2 separate regions of the Homo sapiens genome follow, and region 2 is linked to region 1. Evidence: promoter capture Hi-C in 16 types of primary human blood cells and fetal thymus (Javierre and others, 2016). All regions are on one chromosome and are shown on one strand. The core of a region is centred on a gene start or on the middle of the fragment in contact, and the rest is flanking DNA. Distances in the headings are between cores, read along the strand shown. Region 1 holds the start of KMO (kynurenine 3-monooxygenase). Region 2 overlaps WDR64 (WD repeat domain 64).

Evidence for each region. The method cuts DNA at HindIII sites, captures the fragments that hold promoters and counts their contacts. A CHiCAGO score of 5 or more calls a contact.
Region 2: a contact is called between a fragment that was not itself captured here and the fragment with the promoter of KMO in region 1, in 1 of 17 cell types (monocytes). The highest score is 6.1, in monocytes.

What each region holds. Positions count from the first base shown.
Region 1 is chr1:241,526,965-241,534,202 of GRCh38, reverse strand. It overlaps KMO (kynurenine 3-monooxygenase), which reads right to left and starts at 1,825. Exons shown (of 15, transcript NM_003679.5): 1 at 1,705-1,825. The coding sequence starts at 1,758. RefSeq lists an enhancer at 2,093-2,242. The HindIII fragment of the contact is 7,761 bases long and covers 1-6,025 here.
Region 2 is chr1:241,762,743-241,769,769 of GRCh38, reverse strand. WDR64 (WD repeat domain 64) reads right to left here. Exons shown (of 28, transcript NM_001367482.1): 16 at 3,419-3,552; 17 at 265-366. Among named protein-coding and RNA genes, the nearest start is that of EXO1, 82 kb to the left of the region's middle. The HindIII fragment of the contact is 1,085 bases long and covers 3,387-4,471 here.

The DNA of each region.
Region 1 (7,238 bases), core at 576-3,075:
AATGTTCCTAGTCATTCTCCACATAATGGTCCAAGGGACCTTTTAAAATCACAACTTAATTTCCTGCCTAAAATCCTCCAATAGTTTCCCATTGTAATTTGAACAAAATCTGATCTTCTTGCCTGGACCTCTAAGATCCTACAAGATCTGGTCTGTCAGCTTTTCTGGCCTCATCAGCTACTCTTCTCTGGCCTCAGGCAGTTCCTGCCTTTCTTTCTGCTCCTTGAACTTGGGCAGCTCATTATTGCCTGAGGGTTTCTCTTCCTGCTGTTCCCTCTGCCTGAAATGCTCTTTCTCAAGATCTTCACGTAGTTAGTTCTATCTGATCATTCAGGTCTCTGGTCACATGTCCCTTCAGCAGAGCAGCTGTCCCTGACCACATTCTAAACAGGTACTCCCAAAGATACTCTCTACAGCACTACCCTGTTTTCGTTTCTTTCATAGTGCTTCTCTTTAACTGAAATTGTCTTATTTGTTTTCTTCTTCCTTGTCTTTTTCTTCTCTGGAATTCTCACCCTCGCATCCCTACTACCTAAAACAATATTGGTACATAGTAATCAGATTTTGTTGAACACATGAATTCTCATTTTGTGCAACATTTTGATAGGACAGATTGGACACAAGCCTAGTATGAAGCAGTGACGACACATGTCCCAACCAGTGACCAACACATCATGTGATAGCATTTCTAAATGAAAATTTAGAATCAGAAATATTAAAAGAACTGTTCTAGCACTTTGGGGAAAAGACACTAAGGAAGGCAGAACAAAAGACAGCATATACTGTATAAATACATGTGTGGCATAAAATATACCATCTATATTCAGCCTAGAACAGTGTTACGCCCTCAATAAATTTTTTGTTGAGTGGATATATGAATAATTAATGAAAAGTCTCCAAATGATTTGACCAAAGGTGATAGGGAAATGATTTAACCTTGACTAACTGGGATGTTTGTATTCTGAAACAGAAATTCTGCTGAGATGGGAAAAAGCAAAGTTGAATCGGAGCAGACCCATGTTAAACAGAACTACCTTTGGCACCATAACTATGAAAGCAGAGAGTGACCTCTCCTTCCGTCTTGTTAGGTATGGGGGAAGCCCCAGCACCTTTACGTCACGTGCTCAGTGAGAGGTGAACACCTCACTCCACTGTCTTAGGTGCTCCACTGGAAGAGTCAAGTAAGTCAGGCGACCACATAAATCTTATTCCCAATTACTCATATAACTAGTGAACATTCAACATGATACTTTGACGTTAGCTTCATGTTTCTTGACCCTTTTATTCTCATTAGACAGCATTAACTGAGTTATTAAACAAAGCGGAACAAATGTTTTTATTAAAATGAATATTGAGACTAATTCCTGTTCCTAAAAACATAGCCAATTTGGGGATAAAATCAAATTCAATTTGCATTATTTTTGCTTTTTAACAAATCCTAAACCAAAATGATGAGGGAAAACAGAAACCTTTGTATTTAATGGCTATAAAATACCTTTCCTGAAAAAGAACAGATTAAAACTCATACTATATTAAATCTATGAAAATAAAAATATTAAAAAAATAAACAAAATAGCTGTATTTAAATATCAGAGTTTTCACAAGAAAATTAACAATTTGCAGAAGTGACGAATAATAATCATTACGAGTAATAATAGTTAATATAATACCACCAACAATAGTAATCCATCTGAAAATTCTTACCAAGCCACCACCAATGACAGCTACTTTTTTCCTTTGAATGACAGATGAGTCCATAACTGCTGAAGTATTTTTCACAATTATTGTTGCTTCTGTCACTGAGTGACACTGATTTCTGTGTCTCCTACACACTGATTTCTCTGAGTTTTTATACTGCCCCAAGCCTAGTGCATTCATGAGCCAGCGGCAATGTTTAGTCAGGGCTAATTTCCCTTGACAGTATTAACCCATTAGTTGGCCAAAGTACAATCAGCTCAGCTCTAAGAAAAAATAAATCCATTACAATAACCAAATTTTTTAAAAAATCCATCCAATTGGAGACACTCTATTTTTTCTATCTTCTGTGTAAGACACAGAAATTTTTAAGCAGTCTTGTGGCTTTTCTTCTTCTTTTTCTACAGCATATATTCTTAGTTTCGTTTTCATTCATGATTAACCATGAATGGAGCCCTTCTCATCTGAAGTCCAAAAACATCTTATACCTCCCTTAGAGAGTAAGATGACATGGTTTCATAATTCATCTGTGGATCATTTTTGTGGTTAAGACCAATCAAAAATTTCATCTAAAGGGTCCTCATGGATTGTTTTTAACAGGCTCTACCAGGGAAAATTCTCTGCAAGGTCTTAATATTCTCCCGATCAACATTTTGAATTGTGTAACTGACCATACTTCCCCTTTTTTTTTTCAGCCCAGATGCTAGAAAATTTAGAATCTAATTTTAGAATCGAAAATTTAGAGTCTAATTACCACTAGGGGAGATGACTGACACAACGCTTCTGTAAACTCATTCCCGACTTCATATTATCTATTCACTTTTTTGTCTTTTTCACTCCGTTTTAAATGTTATACTTTTGTGCATGATTTGCGAATGGCAATTGTTTTCTGGAACATGATGTGGTGTAATGTAAAATAAGAACATAAATGAAGTTGTTTCTTCACTTCCTGTTAAGCACATAAAGAATTCAGAACGTTTTTTTCCCTGGTTAGGAACTAGAGTTAAATGGCATTCAATAGTGACCCCTTGTGGATAAGCATGATTAGGTATTTTATTTATTTTGAATAGGTAATACATTAACATGGCATGAAATTAAAGACACAAAAGAGTACACGGTGAATAGTAATCCTGCTAACCTTGACCCTTGGCCACCTATTCCTCCTGCCCAAAGACAACAACTGTTTTGGTGTGTGGGTTACCGTATTCTTCTACACGTTGATTATGTCTTTCTTGTTCTTCCTCTCTCTCCTTTTCTCTCTCTCTTTCTCTCACTCTCTCATTCCCTTCCTTCCTTTCTTTTTAAACATACATTTAAAAACTTTTTCCACATCATATTTCTCACTTTACAACATATAGCTTGAGAATTCTTCAATATCAATATGTAGAGAATATGTATCAATTCCTCAGTATCAATATGTATCATTGTTAAAAAATCTTTTAAAAATTATGAACTATAACACAAATGAACAGTATAATAAGTTACTGTAAAGCAAGTATCCATGTAACTACCATTTAGGTGCAGAGAGAGAATATTGCCAGAATCCCAGAAGTCTAACGTGCCCCCTGTTAATCACCCCTCCTTCGTAGAGGTAACTGCCATACCAACTTTCTTTGCTTTTATGTATAATTGTACCATGATAGATGCATCCCTAAAATAGTTTAGTGTTGACTTTTTTGAACTTTCCTATAAATGAACTTATACTGTTTATTTTTTTACAACTTGCTTCTTTTTCTCAATATTATATCTCTTAAGATCCATTTGTGTTGTTGCATGTTTTTCCAGTTCATTCATTTTTATCGTCATTTATTATTTGTCCATTGTGCTGTTGATGGACATTTGGGGTGTTTCCAAATTTTTAATATCATGAATAATGGTGTTGCCATAAACACTCTTGTGTATACAATGTCATGTACATATGTATGAGTATCTCTAGGTTTCATATGCTGTTTATGCTTTTTTGTTTGTTTTTTGTTTTTTGGGTTTTTTTGAGATGGAGTCTCACTCTGTCACCCAGGCTGGAGTGCAATGGTGCAATCTCGGCTCACTGCAACCTCTGCCTCCCAGGTTCAACTGATTCTCCTGCCTCAGCCTCCCGAGTAGCTGGGATTACAGGTGCCTGCTACCACGCCTAGCTAATTTTTGTATTTTTTCAGTAGAGATGGGGTTTCACCATGTTGACTAGGCTGGTCTTGAACTCGGCCTCAAGTGGTCCACCCGCCTCAGCCTCCCAAAGTGCTGGAATTACAGATGTGAGTGACTGCGCCCAGCCATGTTTATGCATATTTTTAACCTTTCTGAATAAACGAAAGTTACATTCCAAAGTAGTGCATTAGCTTTTACTTAACACAATGTGTAAAATTTGTCTTCTGCTGTATCCTCACCAATGTATGTATTGCCAAGAATTTTTAATTTTTGCCAGTCTGGTAGATGTGCTTTATATTTCAGTGTTCTTTTAATTTGCAGTCCTTTGATTATCAGTGAAGTTGAGCACATTTTTACCTGTTCATTCACAACTTCTTTTTCTTCTTCTGTATAGGTAGTGTTAATTTTTGGGGGGGGAGGGTGGGAATTTTTTTTTCCTTTTTTGAGTCCCATTGCATATGAACTTTAGTACTTAGATATGTCACAAATAACATTTCATTCACTCTGTGGCTTGCCTTTTTGCTTTCCTAGTGGTGTCTTTTGATGAAAGAATATTCTTCATTTAATACATTCTTTTCCCTTGTGGTTAGAGTTTTTCATGTCATGTTTTATCACTTTTTTTGTATAATCTTGAGGTCATGAGGATATTCTTCCATGTTGACTTCTAAAATAGTTATAATTTACCTTTCATTTTTAGGTCTATGATCAACATGGAGTTAGTTTTTTTGTTTTTGGAATGCTGTGATATAGATGTCAAAATTTTATTTGTTTTCCAAATGAATACCCAATATTCCCTGTACCAATAAATGAAAAGACTTTCCTTTTCCCGCATTGCCTTTGGTGTAGGTCCAGTGTTCATATATGTGTGGGTCTCGTTCCAGGTTTCTATTCTATTTCATTCCATATAGTCTATACTGCCCATACTATACCTACTAATGCCAGTTCCAAAGCCAAATTACAATAGCTTTAATACAATCCTTAATATCTTCATCAATTCACCCACCTTGTCCTTCATTAATAATGTATTGACTATTCTTGGTGCTTTGTATTTCCATCTGTTTTAGAATCAGCCTGTTAATTCCATTTTAAAAATCCCTAAAATAAAAATATGGTTGGGATTTTTGACTGGGATTGCTTCGAAGTTATACATCTATCTGGAAAGAATAACTATTTTGACTACTGCGTCTTTCCATTCAGAATATGATATGCCCCTCCCCACCATCTGTTTGTCATCTCCAAGGCTTACAAAGTTATATTCTTTCCCTGTAGAGGTTTGATCCCCTATTATTATGTTTAGGTAATTGATTTTTTAAATTTTATTGTAAATAATATCTTTCATTTCATTTTCTACTATTAATAGTATTTAGAAACACATTATTTTCCATTTTGTGAGCTTGTATGCAGCAGCATTGCAAAAGTTATTAATTCTATTGATTTTGTCTGTAGATTTTTTGATTTTTCTTTTCACCCAATCGCAATGACAGTCCCTTCCTTCCTTCTTTCCTTCCTTCCTTCATTCCTTTTTGTCTTTCTTTCCTGTTGACTGAATGGTGGATTTTTCTCTTCACCACAATCATGGTAGTTTCTCTCTCTCTCTCTCTCTCTCTCTCTCTCTCTCTCTCTCTCTCTCTCTCTCTCTCTCCCCCTGCTACTGACTGATTGAATGATTCTTTCCATGCTGGCTAGTACCTCCAGTACAGGGTGGAATACAGGTTTATTTCTTAAGTTCCAAATGCATGGCACATCCTAGTTTTCTTATTGTTATTGGTTTTTAGCAAAATTCCAGTGAGGCCAGCTAATATGTGCTATAGATTTTCAAACATGTGAAACGGGTTAAGACTCATTGTATGGCCATAAAGTGGTAAATTTGTGTAAATGCTTTGTGTGTACTTGAAATATATATATATTCAAGTATTTCAGAATATATATATATTATATATATATATATTCTGAAATTAATGTATATATTTTCCTATACATATCCATTAGGTCAAGTTTATTAATCATGTGTTCAAAACTTTTGTATTCTCGCTAACTTTTGGTATGCTTGTTTTGTCAATTACTGAAAAAGGTTATGTTAAATAATCTCACGCTGTGATTGGTATTTGTCTGTTTCTTCAGCATTTCTATCTATATGGAACAATCCACATTTAAAGCTGCTATCCATTACTGGTAAACTAAAGCTTTTATTATTATGAAGCAAATAATTATTTTTGCCTTAAACTTTATTTGATAGTACTATTAGCTTTTATATTTAGGTTAGCATTTACATATTATATCATTTCCAACCTTTTGGTTTCAACTTTCTTTTATTCTTATGTGGCCTTTGTAAACAGCATTCTGTTGAACGTTTTAAAATCCAGTCTAGTCTTTAATCTTTATCTTTTAACTTGAGTCTTCGGCTTTCTGTCGTTTCACTAAGATGTATCTACATAAAAATTTATTTTTATAGATCCTAGCAGGAAATCATTGGGTTGCTTAATAGAGATTGGTTTCTTCCCTTGTCTCTTATCCTTTAATCTGTATTTTCATTGCTTGTCCTTTTGTGCTTCGCTATGGATAGTTATGTTAATGCATTATGTATTTTAATGTATTATTGAATTTCCCAATTCTTTTTTCTACTGTCTAGTCAGCTGATAAACTCATCCATTATGCTCTTAACTTTGATTATTGCAATTTTTTAGTTCTGGAATTTTTATTTTATTTTTCATATGTACCACAATATTTTTAGTTTCCAGCACCCTTGCCAAAATCCTCAAGTTTATGTTTATTACTTAACATAATAAACATGAATGTCTTACGGTCTGTGTCTGATAATTTCTACTGTGGCTTTGTTTTGATGGTTATTTATCGTTTGTAGACACTTATGTTATCTAATTTCCCTGTGAGCATTTTAAGCTTTGAGTGCTCAAAATGGTAGTTGAAAAAAAAAAAAAACCTACTTGTAAGTAGTTTGAGGCTTCAGGCATCAGTGTATTGCTTTAGAGAAGATTAATTTTGCTTCTGCCTTGTGCTTATGGGTGATTCAGCACTCACTCCGTATGCAATATCAGTGAGGTCTGTCTTAGGAATAGCTGTTCCTTTGGTATCTACATAGCCCATATGGGATAAAACTAGAGATCGTTGTGCTACTTGCTCTCTTTAAGCCTAGAAGTTCAAAACCCTTTTCCACAACACATGACACATTTCATTTTCAATGTTATTCATCTAAAAGATGAACTCTCATGGAAGTACTAATATTAGCAGTTTGGGCACAGATAAGATAGCCTGAAGTTTACATACAATTCTCTGCTTAATAGCTAGAAACTTACCCTTTTTCTTTGACTCAAAGAAGCACACATATTAATACTATATTATCTGAGTAAAAACGTATTGCACCTGCTTTACTTATTTTTAAA
Region 2 (7,027 bases), core at 2,680-5,179, 230 kb before region 1:
GGCTGACATGGTGAGGGGACCACACAGCACTTTAAATCCCTGAGGAGAACCTCACCTCCAAAATGACAGTTATGGGAAGAAAGCGGAAGCCACGTGTCAACCCAACTGATGTCTTTTTTCAGTGGTCCCTTCTTTAATGCTGGGATGAAGTAAACTCTTTCTATTACTTTCAATGGCAAAAACCACAATTAATTTTGCATCAACCTAATGTATCAGCCACCTAAGTCCCAGACAGTATTACTGGTTCAGTAAGTAACGAGTTACCTTGCACATTCAGGGGTACGAAAGAGGAACAGTATGTCATTAATTTTAAAGTGCTTGGGATGCAAGTCAGGGTTTACAGTGAAGCAATCTTCAGGTCGGTACCTAGAAGTAAGTATACATTTATATGAGAAAAAATTCACAAATTATGGAGCTTACAGTACTAAGATTGTATATCCTCTGCAGAGCTAGGCAATTCCTCAAATGCTAATATTATTGAACATGAAAAGAAAATGCAAGGAAGTAGAGTTTGAACATAGCTTTTTTAGCAAGGTTCTGTTAAATCATGATCCTCAACGGTTTAAAAGTCTTTTAATTCAACTAACCTGTCTAATCTTCCTACCTTTAGATCAGAGAATGGACTTCTACAAAATCCTATGGAAAAAACTCTATTTTATTTTACTTTTAGAGATGGGGGCCAACTATGTTGCCCAGACTGGTCTTGAACTCCTGGGCTCAAGCGATCCTCCTGCCTCAGCCTCCCAAAGTGCTGGGATTACTGATGGGAGCCACCACGCCGGGCTGGTTTCATACAGTTTAAATAATAGAGTTCTAATATTTTTTAAATAAGTGGAGTAATAAATTTGAATAAAATATTATTACCCTTAAAGAGCTTATAATGGAGTGGAGAAGAACAGGTAGTCCAGTGAGGACCCTGCTCTTGCTGCTCCAGTCTCCTGTTGACCCAGATTCCAAGGTCAACACTGAACTTTGTAGGCACCATCCTAGGAACAGGGGAATAGTCCCTAAATGCCTGCACTGAAACATCATGCCTGGCTCTTAAAGCTGCATTTAACATTCATTATAGCAAATAGACCTTACAGCAAAATTTCCCCTGTTTCTTCAGTGGAAATTACTTCTGCAAGAGATGAAGGGGCCTCCTGGAAAGTGAACCCAAGCTCAAAAGAGAAGTCTACAAGCTTGATGACTTGTTGAACTCAAATTTTTTAAGAGATTTCTGTTGTGCAGATGAGCTGAATCATGAAGTGGATTATTAATTAGCAAGAATAATATTAAGTCTGGGCTCAAAAAGCCTGAGGCTTAGAGTGGGAAGAGAAGAGTTATTTCCTCTGACTGGTGAAGGGGTCTTAGGTGAAGTTTGTGGTAGACAAAGAGATGGACTCTACTGCAAATATGGAAACCATTTTCAGTTTCAGAACTTTTAAACCTGGGCCTAAATGACCTTCCACAGATCTGTGCTAAATCATATGTTTTGCAAAATACTGCACTGATTATAAATCAATTGTCTTATATAATCATCTGCCTATAGGAAAGGGACACTGTGTATGACCCACACTATACTTGGTTGTTTTCCTCTGATTGGATGTTGGATATGCATGCATCCCTTGGCAAAATAACAAGGCACTTTAACAAGGAGGATCTTCACCTTTAAAGTGGGATTATTATCACGGGTGTTGCCCCCCTCTTTAGGCTGTGGCATCAAGATAATGGTCTTCTTAGTCTATCTGATTTCCCTTCTTAGGAAAGAGTCATACACAAGCTGACACAGCGTGAAAGCATTAGCAAGAAGGAGGGGAAGTTTGCAGTGCAGACAGGTGTAGGTATCAAGTGGCAGGTAGACAATGTGTGAGAAAAGGCTGGGGGCATGGGCTGAAGTGAAGGAACAGAAGGATGACAGGAATTCCAGGGGCAGGATCCAGGAGTATGTGGACTGAGGTGCAGAAAGGGGGGTCTGCAGAAACAGCTATTTCAATTAAAGGTTCAAAGAGAAGAAATCCATAGTCCAAGCAATAAATGATTATTTCCTTTCAAAAACTGGCTAAAAGAAATGACTCAGGCTTGGATGGGAAGGAGCAGGCAGACCAGCAGTATGTTAAGAAGTGTAAAGAGAGAGGCAGACATTTCTTTTGTATTTTCCTCTCCTTTTCTCCTGTCCTTTCCAATTCTCCCTTCTCTCCTCTTTTATATCTCTTCCCGTCCCCCAAATGCTTAGATAAACTTGATTTTATTTTCATTTATTATTAAGGTTCTTGGCCATCTTGTATCTGTAAGTAAAATTTTCCAAACCCCCTTGCCATAGGGTGGCCACACATGGCCCTTGCACACGTTCCAATTACACAGCTGGGGAGAACTTATTACTTACAATCCATCCAAACAAATCATTCAGTGTTACTTTAGTTCCTTCTCAACAAATGCAAAAAAAAAAAAACATTGAGAAGTGGATGGTATGGGGAGGGTAAGATCTTGGCCATAGTCCAGGGTAAATCTAATTGGTTGAGAGGAATAATTGCATCTACAACATTGGCCCTTGTTAGCCCCAATCTGTAATAAATCAGACGTGTTGAGGTGGTGAATGAGAAGGATATGCTACCCAGGAGTCTTCTCACCATGTGACTTTGGTGGCTGAGTAGATGGTGGTGGCACTGGGGATACAGGAAGGGGAGAAGTTTGGGAGCGGGGAGTAGGTTGGGAAGATGTTTCAGGCATGTAGGGCTTTGAGGGTCTTGGTAACAATCAGATGAAAATTGCCAATAGGCAATTGGTTATGTGTGTTTGAAGCTCTAGAGAGATTAGTTTGAAGTTGTTATGTATTTTAATTATTTGTTGAGGTCATAAATTTGGGCAAGATCACACATGAAAAGCATATACTAGTTGAGAATAGTAAAGATCAAAGCTCTTGGGAATATAGATGCTTACAGTTCACCTTACTTATATCATCCTGGGATTTAGACACTTAGAACACAGTCCATTCATGAATATAACTTCCAGGAACGCCTGCCTTGAAAGTTATCACCATTTTTATGTATTGCTTTTTTGTCCCCTGAGGTTTTTTTTTTTTTTTTTATACTGAGTTTCACTCACTCTGTCACCCAGGATGTAGTGCGGTGGTGTGATCTCAGCTCACTGCTACCTCCACCTCCCAGGTTCAAGCAATTCTCATGCCTCACCCTCTCCATTAGATAGGATTACAGGCAGGCGCCACTGCGCCCTGCTACTTTTTGTATTTTTAGTAGAGACAGGGTTTCACCATGTTGGTAAGGCTGATCTCGAACTCCTGGCCTTAAGTGATCCTCCTCCCAAAGTTCTGGGTTTACAGACCTGAGCCACCGCGCCCAGCCCTTCCCTGAGTGTTGCATGCTACTGAGCCCTTCTGCAGTAAAGCTTTTACATTGTTTAAGGATAATACACAACTTACACTTTTTTGACAGTAGACGTCACAAAATTCCATAAGATGATCACACCATTTAAGGTTCCAGCTGCTATCAAATTATATCCTTCTACTTGTAGTAAATCAATGCAGTTCACTCGTAATAAATCCATGGTGGGATTCTGAAGAACGAAGGAAACAGAACACCATAAATATAGTATTCATGATTCGCGGTGCAAACGCCATGTGTACACTTTGTAATTGTCATCAACTTAAAACAAAATGCCTTATTATATATATTTTTAATATCAGAGCATGAAATTTAGTAAAATCTTATTTTTCTTGCACTAAAATTTTTAACTGGCAGAATTCATTAGATCAACAAATATATACTCTTCCTGTTTACTGGCTGCTTTTTCTCAGCCTTATTTATTCTTTCTTCCCAACTTTCTTCCCGTCTTCCTCTTCCCTTCAAACTTGTTGAAAGAATATTCTACGTTCGTCGTTTCCACTTACCAACTTTTCTTTCACTCAGCAAATTTCATTGGCTTCTGCTTCATAACACCCTGTGATAGCTATTTATCATTAAGATCTTTTTCAATTGTCTTGCCTCAAATATTTGTTAGATATCTACTATGTTAGATATTTGGAATACAAAGTCAAGTAGGACATCTGTGATCTGGAGAAACATAATACTTTAAAGTACTCAAAGTGTTGATTACAGTGCAATGTGAAAGTGCTGTATCGGAGGGAGGCACGCATGTAACTTGACAGGATCATAGAAGAGTGACATTTAAATAAGAGGAGAGGTCTATTACCACTGTCAATTACCACTCTCAGTTGCTCTCCCCTTCCTGAAACTCCTTACTCTCCTGACGTCCTTGACTCCAGGCTTTGCTGGTTTTGCTGTGTCTCTGCGACTTTTCTTTTTCTGTTTCCTACTTGGTACCCTCTTGCTCTGCCAGTCTTTTAAATATTAATATTTTTGGGGTTTATCTCAAATACATTTTTTTTCAACTGTTTCTGAGGAATCTCAGATTATGTTTCAAATATCTCAATGCTAGTGACCTAATTATCTAGTCCAGTCCTCTCCTACAAGCTTCAGGCTTATATATTTAATTACTTAGACATTTTACAGGTATCTCAATGTTAATATATGTAACTTATCACCTCCTTTAGGCATGTTTCTTTGCTCTATTCTTTTTTTTTTTTCAGAGACAGATCTCCCTCTGTTGCCCAGACTGGAGTACAGTGGAATGATCACAGCTTACTGCAGCCTCGACTTCCTGGGCTCAAGCGATCCTCCCACCTTGGGCTCTGGAGTAGCTGGGACCACAGGTGGGTGCTACCATGCCTGGCTAATGTTTTGATTTTTTTTGTAGAGACAAGGTCTCACTATGTTGCCAGGCTGGTCTCAAATTCCTGAGCTCAAGTAATCCACCTACTTCAGCCTCCCAAAGTTCTGGGATTATAGGCATGAGCCATAGTGCCCAGTCCTCTATTCTTTATTTCATTGGTTAGCGCTATTTTTCAGTTCATCATTCAAGTTAGAAATCCTGGAACTGTCCTTCTTTCCTTCCTTTCTTTCAGTGCCCTCCTCTCCCAACTGCATGGTGTAATTGCAAGTTATGCTACTTTTACTGCCTAGATATTTTCTGAAACCAGAACATTTTCTTCTGCACCATCTCCATTGTCATGACCTTATATCTTTTATTATTTTATCATTGTAAATTTCTTTAGAGACAGAATCTTGATCTGTCACTCAAGCTGGTCTGCAGTGGTGCAATCATAGCTCACTACAACCTCGAACTCCTGGGCTCAAGCACTCCTCCCACCACAGCCTCCCAAATAGCTTGACTGAAGGTGCACGCCGCTGCACCCAAATAATTTTTTTAAATTTTTAAAAATTTTTTTGTAGAGATGGGGCCTATGTTGCCCAGGCTGGCCTCGAACTCCTGGCCTCAAGTGATCCTCTCACCTTGGCCTCCCAAAATGCTGAGATTACAGGTGTGAGCCACTGAGCCTGGTCATCCTTATATCTTTTAACTAAAACAGGAAGTAGCCTGTTGCCTGAATCTTCTGCCTTTAGTCCTGTCCCTGTCAAATCTGTCATCCAGGCAGCATCAAAGATGAGCTGCCCACAGCACAAATCTGATCGTGTCATTTCTCATTTAAAGCCCTTCCATGGCCTTCCATTTGTTATAGGATGCTCAAGCTCCTTATTCTTGTAAGCATGGTCTGGTCCCTACCTATTTGTTTGTCTTCATTTTTAACTACTCCCAGTATTACTCCAGCCACACTGAGATACTTGTAGTTATCCTTCACAAACCATGCAATATTTTACCTCCATTATTTCGTTCACATTACCTCTTCCACTTGAGATTCACTGTCTTTTCACTATCCTCTAGAAACTGCCTATCTGAGCCAAGCTAACTCCTGATAGTTCTTTAGCTATAATTCAGCAATTATCCTCTTCAAAAACCTCCCCGTCTCCCCAGCCCTCCAGGATCTCTGCTGTACTTCTACAGTGCAGGTACTATACCTCATTAATCTTGACATTCCCAGTGCTAAGAACAGTGCATGATACGGTGGCAGGTATTCAATAAAAAGTGCTTCTAAATAAAAGAGTTTTAGGGAGAGGATTTCCATGCACAATCAAATTTTTTTCCTAATTGACTTTTGCAAACTTTTCTTTGAGACTGAGTCTTGCTCTGTTGCCAAGGCTGGAGTGCAATGGCATGATCTCAGCTCACTGCATCCTCCACCTTCCAGGTTCAAGTGATTCTCATGCCTCAGCCTCCCCCGTAGCTAGGATTACAGGCGTACGCCACCATACCTGGCTAACTTTTGTATTTTTATTAAGGATGAGGTTTCGCTGGCCAGGCTGGTCTGGAACTCCTGACCTCAAGTTATCTGCCCGCCTTGGCCTCCCAAAGTGCCGGGATTACAGGTGTGAGCCACTGTGCCTGGCCGACTTTTGCAAACTTTCAATCTATAATTTTAAAGTCTGTTGCAAAAAGGAAGTGCTATAATGATAATTATGATAACTACAAAAAATAAAGATTCAAAATTGGAGATAATTTACATTTACATTAAAAGCCTACAAGGCACTTTATTGTGTTTCAATAGTTTATAATTTATCACCATAGTTTTTCTTTTTTTTTTAAGCAATCATTTTTTGGTACCTACACAATTATTTGTTAACTGCCTGGTTCTGACTCACTGTGCAGTCATCTTCTTTCTGTTTTTATTAGCTATAAATAAGATTTCATATATCAAATACATATAATTGAACCTAGTGTTTCCAATTATATGTAGAGTTGAAAAGGGAAGTAGGCTAGAATTGGTCTACGAGGACATGCATTTTGTTCTGTCTTTTGTGCATATTACATGATAACGTTATTATGACATAGTCACTGTGTATATTGATTTTAAAGGGCTTTTAGCTAAGAATAAAACCTACTTATCATTTAAACTAGCAATGAATGACATTCAAATTGCAGTTCCAAACTGACATTTGTTTCAATATGAGGAAAACTAATACAGTATGTTTCCGTTCTATGACAAAATAATTGTTTCCAAATTCCATAAACCAGCTATATTATTATTCTATTTTTTTTTTTTTGCAAGGAAGCTTTATGGTTAATAATAATAAAA